Regions from separate parts of the Homo sapiens genome. Here region 1 is linked to region 2. The links are contacts of gene promoters, found by promoter capture Hi-C in blood cells and fetal thymus (Javierre and others, 2016). All regions are on one chromosome and are shown on one strand. The core of a region is centred on a gene start or on the middle of the fragment in contact, and the rest is flanking DNA. Distances in the headings are between cores, read along the strand shown.

Region 1 (4,503 bases), core at 1,292-3,791, 320 kb before region 2:
CTACTTGGGAGGCTGAAGTGGAAGGATCGCCTGATTCCAGGAGTTCAAGACCACGCTGGGCAACATAGGGAGACCTCGTCACTACCAAAAATAAAAAAAATTATCTGGGCGTGGTGGCTCATGCCTGTGGTCCCAGCTACTTAGGAGGCTGAGGTGGGAGGATTGCCTGAGCCAAGGAGGTCGAGGCTGCAGTGAGCTGAGATCATGCCACTGCACTCCAGCCTGGGTGACAGAATGAAAGCCTGTCCCCCAAAAAATAAAATAATGAAATCATGAGCTAAACCAAGTACAAAATTAATAAATAAAAAGATTAAAAATAAAAATAAAATAAAGGAATGGATAGAAGGGATGAATTGTCAACAAGATCCCGATATGTTTTCCCTTCTGATTTCAAGTATCTAATTCAGTTATTCATTTTACCCTGAGGGTGGCAGCAGGAGTCTCTTCTATCGCCCAAGCGTTGCCAAGAGGCAACTTTTAGGTCACTCTGACATGAGCTAACAGATGCAGTTTCTGGTTAGAGAGCTTGGACAGATCCATGCCATTTCCTCTCCCTTACAAGGTTGGGGGGAAAGGCTGCGTGCGGCCTCAGGAAACCCTGGGGAGCAGCAGGGATCCTCCCCAGCTGTCGCCCAATTAGAAAGCCAGTGATTTAACAGAAGGCCAAGAAGACTCACAGGGCCAGGCCTGGGGTTCTCTTTGTTCCACCTTTTTTCCCATGCTGAGAAATGAAAGAGAAAAACATTGCATGACAAGAATTAATGGTGTCAAACAAATAGCATCAAAGACAATTTAAGTATTGCTCTTCTCTCTCGGAAATGGATGAAGACAAAGAGTAGTGGCTTCCTTTTTACCCATTAACTGCTCTACATTTGGAAAGAGCTGGTGGACAGTGTTTTCATACTGTATCCATTCAGCTTGATGCTTACAAATGTACAGTTCAGAAATTTTTCAAGGAAACAGTTTGCTACAAAGCACATAGTTTCCTCTGATCATAACCATGACCTCGTTTATAATCATAATCTTGTTTATAATCTCAGGATGCCAACATGCCCAAAATGACTTTGGAATCATTGTTTTAAAATTTCATCTTTTTTTAAGACTTTATTTTTTAGAGCAGTTTTAGGTTCATGGCAAAATTGAGCAGAAAGTGCAGAAATTTCCCAGATAACTCCTGCCCCTACACACCCACAACCTCTGTCACTATCACCACCCCTAACCAGAGCTGTACAGTTGTTGCAATTGATGAACCTGCAATTGACGCATCATCATCACCCAAAGTCCATAGTTTACATTATGACTCACTCGTGTTGTATATTTTATGGGTTTTGACAAAGATACAAGGACACATATCCATCATTGCAGTATCATGCAGAGTAGTTTCACTGCCCTAAAAATCCTCTGTGCTCCACTTATTCATCTCTCCTTCCCCTCAACTCCTGTAAACCACTAATCTTTTTACTGCCTCCTTAGTTTTGCCTTTTCCGGAATGTCATATAGTTGGAATCATACAGTATGTAGCCTTTTCAGATTGGCTTCTTTCACTTAGTATATCAGTCTGTTCTCATGCTGCTTATAAAGACATACCCAAGACTGGGTAATTTATAAAGAGGTTTAACGGAGTCACAGTTCCACGTGGCTGGGGAGGCCTCACAATAATGGTGGAAGGTAAAAGGCATGTTTTACATGGTGGCAGATAAAAGAGAATGTGGACCAAGCAAAAGGGTTTTCCCCTTATGAAACCATCAGATTTTGTGAGACTTATTCACTACCATGAGAACAATATGAGGGAAACTGCCCCCCATGATTCAGTTATCTCCCACTGGGTCTCTCCCACAACGCGTGGGAATTATGGGAGCTATAATTCAAGATGAGATTTGGGTGGGGACACAGCCAAACCTATCACTTAGTAATATGCATTTAAGTTTCCTCCATTTTTTTTTTTTTTTCTGAGACAGAGTCTCGCTCTGTCACCCAGGCTGGAGTGCAGTGGCGCGATCTCGGCTCTCTGCAACCTCCGCCTCCCGGGTTCAAGTGATTCTCCTGCCTCAGCTTCCTGAGTAGCTGGGATTACAGGCGTGTGCCACCACGCCCAGCTCATTTTTAGTAGAGATGGGGTTTCACCATGTTGGCCAGGCTGGTCTCAAACTCCTGACCTCAAGTGATCCACCTGCCTCCGCTTCCCAAAGTGCTAGGATTACAGGCATGAGCCACCGCGCCTGGCCTCTTCCATGTCTTTTTATGGCTTGGTAGCTCAGTTCTTTTTCTCACTGCATAATATTCCACTATCTGGATGTACCAGTTTATTTATCCACTCACCTACCAAAGGACATTTTGGTTGCTTCCATGTTTTTGCAATTATGAATAAAGCTGCTATAAACATTCCTGTGTGTAGATTTACGTGGGGACATAAGTTTTCAAGTCATTTGGGTAAATATCAAGGAATGCAATTACTGGATGGTATAGTAAGAGTATGTTTAGTTTTGTAAGAAGCCGCCAAACTGTCTTCCAAAGTGGCTGTGCCATTTTGCATTCTCATGAATGAGAGTTTCTGTTGCTCCACATCCTCGACAGCATTTGGTGTTGTCAGTGTGTTGTTTTCACCATTCTAATAGGTGTGTAGTGGCATCTCACTGTTGTTTTATTTTATTTTTTATTTTTTTAATTTTGAGACAGGGTTTCACTCTCGTTGCCCAGGCTGGAGTGCAATGGCGCGATCTTGACTCACCGCAACTTCCGCCTCCCAGGTTCAAGCAATTCTCCTGCCTCAGCCTCCCTAGTAGCTGGGATTACAGGCATGTGCCACCACGCCCAGCTAATTTTGTATTTTTAGTAGAGACGGGGTTTCTCCATGTTGGTCAGGCTGGTCTTGAACTCCTGACCTCAGGTGATCCGCCCGCCTTGGTCTCCCAAAGTGCTGGGATGACAGGCATGAGCCACTGCGCCCAGCCTAACTGTTGTTTTAATTTGCAAGTCTCTAATGACATATGATGTTGGGCATCTTCATATGCTTATTTGCCATCTGTCCACCTTCTTTGGTGAGGTGTCTATTCAGGTCTTTTGCCCATTTTTTAATCAGGTTGTTCATTTTCTTACCGTTGAGTTTTAAGAGCTCTTTGCAATTTTGGATAATAGTCATTTATCAGACACCTCTTTTGCAAATATTGTGGCTTGTCATTTCATTCACGTTTGTGGGGAGGGGGGAACGGAGTCTCACTCTGTCACCCAGGCTGGAGTGCAGTGGTGCAATCTCGGCTCACTGCAACCTCTGCCTCCTGGGTTCAAGCAATTCTCCTGCCTCAACCTCCAAGTAGCTGGGATTACAGGTGCACACTACCACACCTGGCTATCATCTCATTCTCTTGATCATCCTTTTTTCTTAAATTAAAAAGTGAGCAATTTCTTTGCAGTCAGAACAACATTTCTGTTGGCAGTGTGTGGTGGTAAAGAGGGGGACTCTGGAGTTAGCTTGGATTTGAATTCCAGTTCTGCCACTTATTAGCTGTGCCAGTTACTGAATGTCTCTGTGCTGCACTTTCCTCATCTTTAAAATGGGTATATGAGCTGGGCGTGGTGGCTCATGCCTGTAATCCCAGCACTCTGAGAGGCAGAGGTGGGTGGATTGCTTGAGGTCAGGAGTTCAAGACCAGCCTGGGCAACACGGCAAAATCCCGTCTCTACAAAAAATACAAAAATTAGCTGAGTGTGGTGGTGCACACCTGTAGTCTCAGCTACTTGGGGGACTGAGGTGGGAAGATCGCTTGGGCCCAGGAGGAGGAGGCTGCAGTGAGTGGAGATCGTGCCATTGCACTCCAGCCTGGGCGAGAGAGTGAGACTCTGTCTCCAAATTAAATAAAACAAGATGGAGATAAACCCGTACTCATAGGGTTGCTGTGAAAATTAGGTCAATTAATATAATTAGTATAAGAGATTTAAAACAGTTTCTGCAATATTTATTATTAAATTATTTGATTAGAACAAAAGATATAGTTTGCACAGTGGCAGAGACATGCATGAAAAGCAATGGTAGACATTTCTGACATGAAGGGCATGCCTTGGCAGCCTTTTAAGATCATTCTCCACTGAGCAGCAGCAGTTTCGTTTTAGAAGTCACATCAAAGCTACTTTGGCTTTTGCAAGGCGATTTCTGTGCATTATGCACAGAATGACATACCAACCTAAGAAAATTGATCTACTAGCAATTAGTGAGATGGAGCAGGAGAAGGAGCTAGCTTGCTATGGAAAAAGTGACAAAGAGATGGACTGAGTTGAGACACTTAGAGGTCTCTGACACTAACTGGCTGCCTCACTTTGTACAAATCACTTTATTCATCTGTTTCAGGCTTCCACTTGGTTTTGTTTTGTTTTTTGAGATAAGAGTCTTGCTCTGTCATCCAGGCTGGAGTGCAATGGCGTGATCTCGGCTCACTGCAATCTCTGCCTCCTGGGTTCAAACGATTCTCCTGCCTCAGCCTCCTGAGTAGCTGGAATTACAGGCATGCA
Region 2 (4,409 bases), core at 1,643-4,142:
TCTGAGGCTGGAGAATCACTTGAACCCAGGAAGCAGAGGTTGTAGTGAGCTGAGATCTTGCCACTGTACTCCAGCCTGGGCGACAGAGTAAGACTCCATTTAAAAAGAAAGAAAGAAAGAGATCATTCCTTTAAACTTCCTAATTTTACAGAAAGGGTGAGTGTAATCGGGCAGCCCCCAACGCAGAGTCCACACTCACCCAAGCGTGGTCATGGTGACAATGGTATACCAGAAGGCCGCAGGGATGCTTGTAAAGTTGGTCTTGTTTGTGCCCTTCTCAGCATAAAACATGACAGTGGCAAAGATGATGATGGCCATGGTTAGGGAAAAGAGGAGAAAGCCCAGCTCAGAGGCACAGCTCTTGAGTGTGTAGCCCAGAATCCTCAAGCCCTGTGAGTGCCTGGAGAACTTGAAGATGCGAAACACCCGGAACACACGCAGGGTGACAAAGGCGCCAGAGACATCGTCGTTCTTGGGCACCAAAAGCCCAATGTAGTAGGGCAGGATGGCCACCACGTCGATGAGGCTCATGACACTCCGCAGGAAGCGGCAACGGCTGGGGGCGGCAAACAGCCGCAGGAGGTATTCACCTGTGAATATGAGTACACAGGCTGTGTCCATGCAGAAAAAGGCCTGTGGGAAGCGTTCGCCACAGGGCTGCTCCCTTGAGGACCTGCGTGCAGAGCCGCGGCATGGGATGGTCTCCACCACATTGGCGATGACCGACACGGCGATGAAGAAGCCGGTCACATAGTAGAAAACGAGGGCTGCGGTGCTCGTGTGTGGATTCTCGAAGGCCCGCCAGAGCCGCTGCCGCAGGGAGCTGCCTGCTGGCAGGGCTGGGCCGTCCCCGGCCTGCTCTGCCTCCTCATCCTCTGCCAGGCGCTCGGCATTCTCCTTCTTTCGGTCCCGATACTCTTCAAGGCAGCAGTCACCGACTAGCTCGGGAACCAGGCCGTAGAAAGCCAGCTCTTCGTCGAAGGCCTGGATGCACTCCTGCCGTGGGCAATGCAGCCGCCCCGTTCGGTAGAAGTTCAGCACATGGCGGAACATGTCAGGGTCGCGATCGAAGAAGTACTCGCCTGAGTCAGCATCGTAGAAGAATTCCTTCTCCGAGCTGCCCAGCAAGGTGTCTGGGTAGCGGTCCAGCGTATTCTTCCAAGTCTCAAAGCGCCGTCCGCTCACGTTCACCACCAGAACCTCATCTCCTCGAGATGCCTTCACCCCCGGTGCCGGGGGCAGGGGTTGCTGGGCCAGGGGCAGCCAGCCCACTGCTGCTGCCCGAGCAAAAGGCAGCCACGTGGCCAGGCCTGCCGCCATCGTGCCACTCCCCAAGCCCAGGGAGACTTAGTGAGGGTGGCGTTTAGGAGAATGTGGCTGTCTCCAGGATGGTGGGGGCTTGGAGACACCTTGAGCCACCCAAACAAGGAAACTGGGGGTGTCTAGAGAGGCCAAGAGGAACCAGGAGGAAGAACTAAAGAGATGGGAAGGAGTCTGGGGGACATTTACAGAACCTAGGAGGGGCCTGGGCAATGTTCTGAGGGACTGAGAAGGGCCTTGGGGACATGGAGAAGAGCAGAAAAGGGGTGTGGGGATGGGGCCAAGAAGGAGCTGAGGGAGGGTTTAGAGAGACTGAGATGATTCTAAAGGAGTCAGCCTGTGCCTGAGAGGTGTCTGGGGGCGTCTAGAGGGGCCAAGAAACACGTGGGGAATTCTCTGCACTCTCAAGAGTCTCAGGGAAGGCAGAAGAGCCTGGAATTCCTTTGCAGTGGTGGAGAGGAGACTGGGGCATCCAGAGGGGTAGAAATGGGACCAGAGGTGCTTGAAAGAGACTGAGAGTGCCTGGAAGTGGGGGTTCTAGAGGGGCTGAGACAGGTGAGGAGGGTTGTCCACACCCTCAAGACTTCTAGGGGAAGCATAAGAGGGTTAGACCCCCCTCATGGATCTGGAAAGGGAGCTGGTGCATCTTGAGGGGTGGCTGTGGATCCAGGAGGTTGTAAAGAGGCTGAAAGGTGTCTTGGGACTGCCTAGAGTTGCCAAGAATAGCCCGGGGGGGTGTCTATACTCTACAGGAGTTCTGGGGAAGAAAGGAGAGGCCAGAGCCTCCTAGTAGGGCTGGAGAGGGGAAGGGGTTATCTAAAGGGGTAGACAGGGGGCTGGGTTATTTTTTGAGAGGCTGAGAGTTATCTGGGGGAGGTGGGTATCTAGACGGGCCAACAAAGCCTGGTCGACACTCTCAGGAGTTCTACAGGGAGGAAAAAGGGGCCTGGGGAATTCCAAGGGCCGGGACTCAAATGTTAGGAAGTTGGGCACAATCCCAGAGCACCCAGGGGATCTATGAAGACTAAATAAGAGGAAGGGGGTTAACCCCAAAATGGGATTAAGAGGGGGGTGGGGTGTTGAAAGGGAGTTGGGTGTGTCTCCAGGGAGGGGGGCTCCTGGGCTTTGCAGGAAGCTGGCAGGAGACGCCGGGAGAAGGCTGGGTCCCACCGTTGGGGGCAGGTCTGGGGAAACCACACCCCGAGGGGCTGGCGGTGTGTACTGGGCAGTGGCAGTAGCAGCAGCGGCAGCAGGAGGAAGAGAAGCAACCACAGCCAGGCATAGGAGAGAAGGTGGCATAGGCAGGGGGAGGGTGCGGGGTCCCTGGAAGGAGGCCTGGGAAGGGCAAGGTCCAGTGGGACCCCTGGGGACTATCCCAGGATGGGTTAGGGCGTGGGGGCTGGACCAGGGAAGGATGAGGACAGCGCTAGTGGTGGTCCCCCTCCCCCTCTCTCTCGGGGCGTCCTCACCTGTGTCCCCGCTGCAGGAGCAGCAACAGCGGTGGGGCTGGGGGTACCAAACACCCGAGCTCCTGGCCCCCTCTGCAGAGCTGCCTGAGTTCTCCTCCTCCTCTGGCTCTCTCTCCCCGCCCCTCTGAGCTTGCCGGGAGATGGAGAGGCAGGGAGGGGCCTCGTGGCTCCCTGAGCCCCCTCCCCTAGGACAGCCAGAGAGGGACCCTGGGGAGACTCCGCCTCCTACAAAGCTGGTTGGGCCTCAGTCGCGTCATCTGGAAAATGGGGGTGGCAGGGAACTTCGCCAATTCTCTCCACCTCCTTCCTGGACTCCCCTCTCTTCCTGCCCAGCTCCTACCCGCTCTGCCCCCAGGGGCCCCCACCCCCACTCGCCTGAATCAGCAGCACTTAGCAGATCCGATCGATGGGAAGGCGTCTGTTAATGGCCCCAGAGCGGAGTGCCACAGGGAATGATGCAGCGCTGTCCCCTCCCTGCCCCCCAGACTGTGGAAAGGCAGGAGAGCCAGGAGTCGGGGGTAATTGCTGGGGAGTGTTTCTCTAGATGGCCAAGCTTCCGAAGCCGCCCCCTTGAGGGGCGCAGCATGGGTTACAGCCCCAGCTCTAAGACTTCGGCTGTGGGATTGGAGCACGGGACTTCCTGTTTTTAGATATGAAATGAGGGTAAAGGGAATGTAGAGGGGGACAATCCAGGTCCCACCCCCCTACCATCTCAGGCAGGCCCCACTCCGAGGGGGTAGTCTCTCTTATCTGTCCATATCCAGTGGCCTCAAATCACACCTCCTCCGCTAGAGGGCTCTGCTTCTGGATGGCAGGAGCACTGATTATGGAATGCCTCTGGCTGGCTATGGGTGGGTTCAAACCCCAGCTTTGCCACTGACTTGCTGCATCCTTGAGCAAGTGACTTGCATTGTTTCCTCAGTTGTCAGATGGAGAGACTTATCCCAACTTGATAGCGTCATTTGGAGCATTACATGATGTGAAAGGTGATAGCACTGGACACAGCTCACACCAGGGATGCTTAATCTTAATTAAAGGAGTGTGATGACAGGGGCACTGTAATGCAGGGCCAGGCCTAGCCTTTCACCCAAGATTTACCCACCCGTGTAAACTTCCAATTGCCCATTTGGCACACTCCTGATTTGTCCATTTCTACATCCATTCCTCCACCTACCCATCCACCCATTCTCCCACCCACACAATCAATTCCTCTATCCATCCCTCCACCCACCCGTCCACTTAGTCGTTAATCTACCCACCCACTCATTCATCCATTTGTAAGTTCACCCCATTTGGCTGTTTGCCAATCTATCTGTATGTATCCATCCTCTGCCCATCTCTTCCCACCCGGAACACATGCAGGGTGACATCCTCTGCCCATCTCTGTCCATACATAGCTCCACTTGTCATTTCTTCTCCCACTCTTTACCCTTCCCATTCATTAGCTCATCTACCCATCCATCCATTCCCCCAACCATTGGTCCATTTACTCCTAACCTGTCCATAAACCCATCCATCCACCTGTCTACCTAAATCATCCACCCATTTGTCCATAGACCTATTATCCATCTGTCCATTTACATCTCTACTATCCATCCTCTATCCACCTACCAATCTATC

What was found. Contacts are between HindIII fragments. The CHiCAGO score rates a contact against its expected background, and 5 or more counts as called.
Region 1: a contact is called between a fragment that was not itself captured here and the fragment with the promoter of KCND1 in region 2, in 3 of 17 cell types (activated CD4 T cells, non-activated CD4 T cells and naive CD8 T cells). The highest score is 7.5, in activated CD4 T cells.

The regions. Positions count from the first base shown.
Region 1 is chrX:48,648,014-48,652,516 of GRCh38, forward strand. The region is part of intron 1 of LOC124905186 (a long non-coding RNA gene); the gene reads left to right. Among named protein-coding and RNA genes, the nearest start is that of WAS, 34 kb to the right of the region's middle. RefSeq lists an enhancer at 391-1,053. The HindIII fragment of the contact is 7,789 bases long and covers 1-4,503 here.
Region 2 is chrX:48,968,952-48,973,360 of GRCh38, forward strand. It overlaps KCND1 (potassium voltage-gated channel subfamily D member 1), which reads right to left and starts at 2,893. Exons shown (of 6, transcript NM_004979.6): 1 at 200-2,893. The coding sequence starts at 1,320. The HindIII fragment of the contact is 6,364 bases long and covers 1-3,340 here.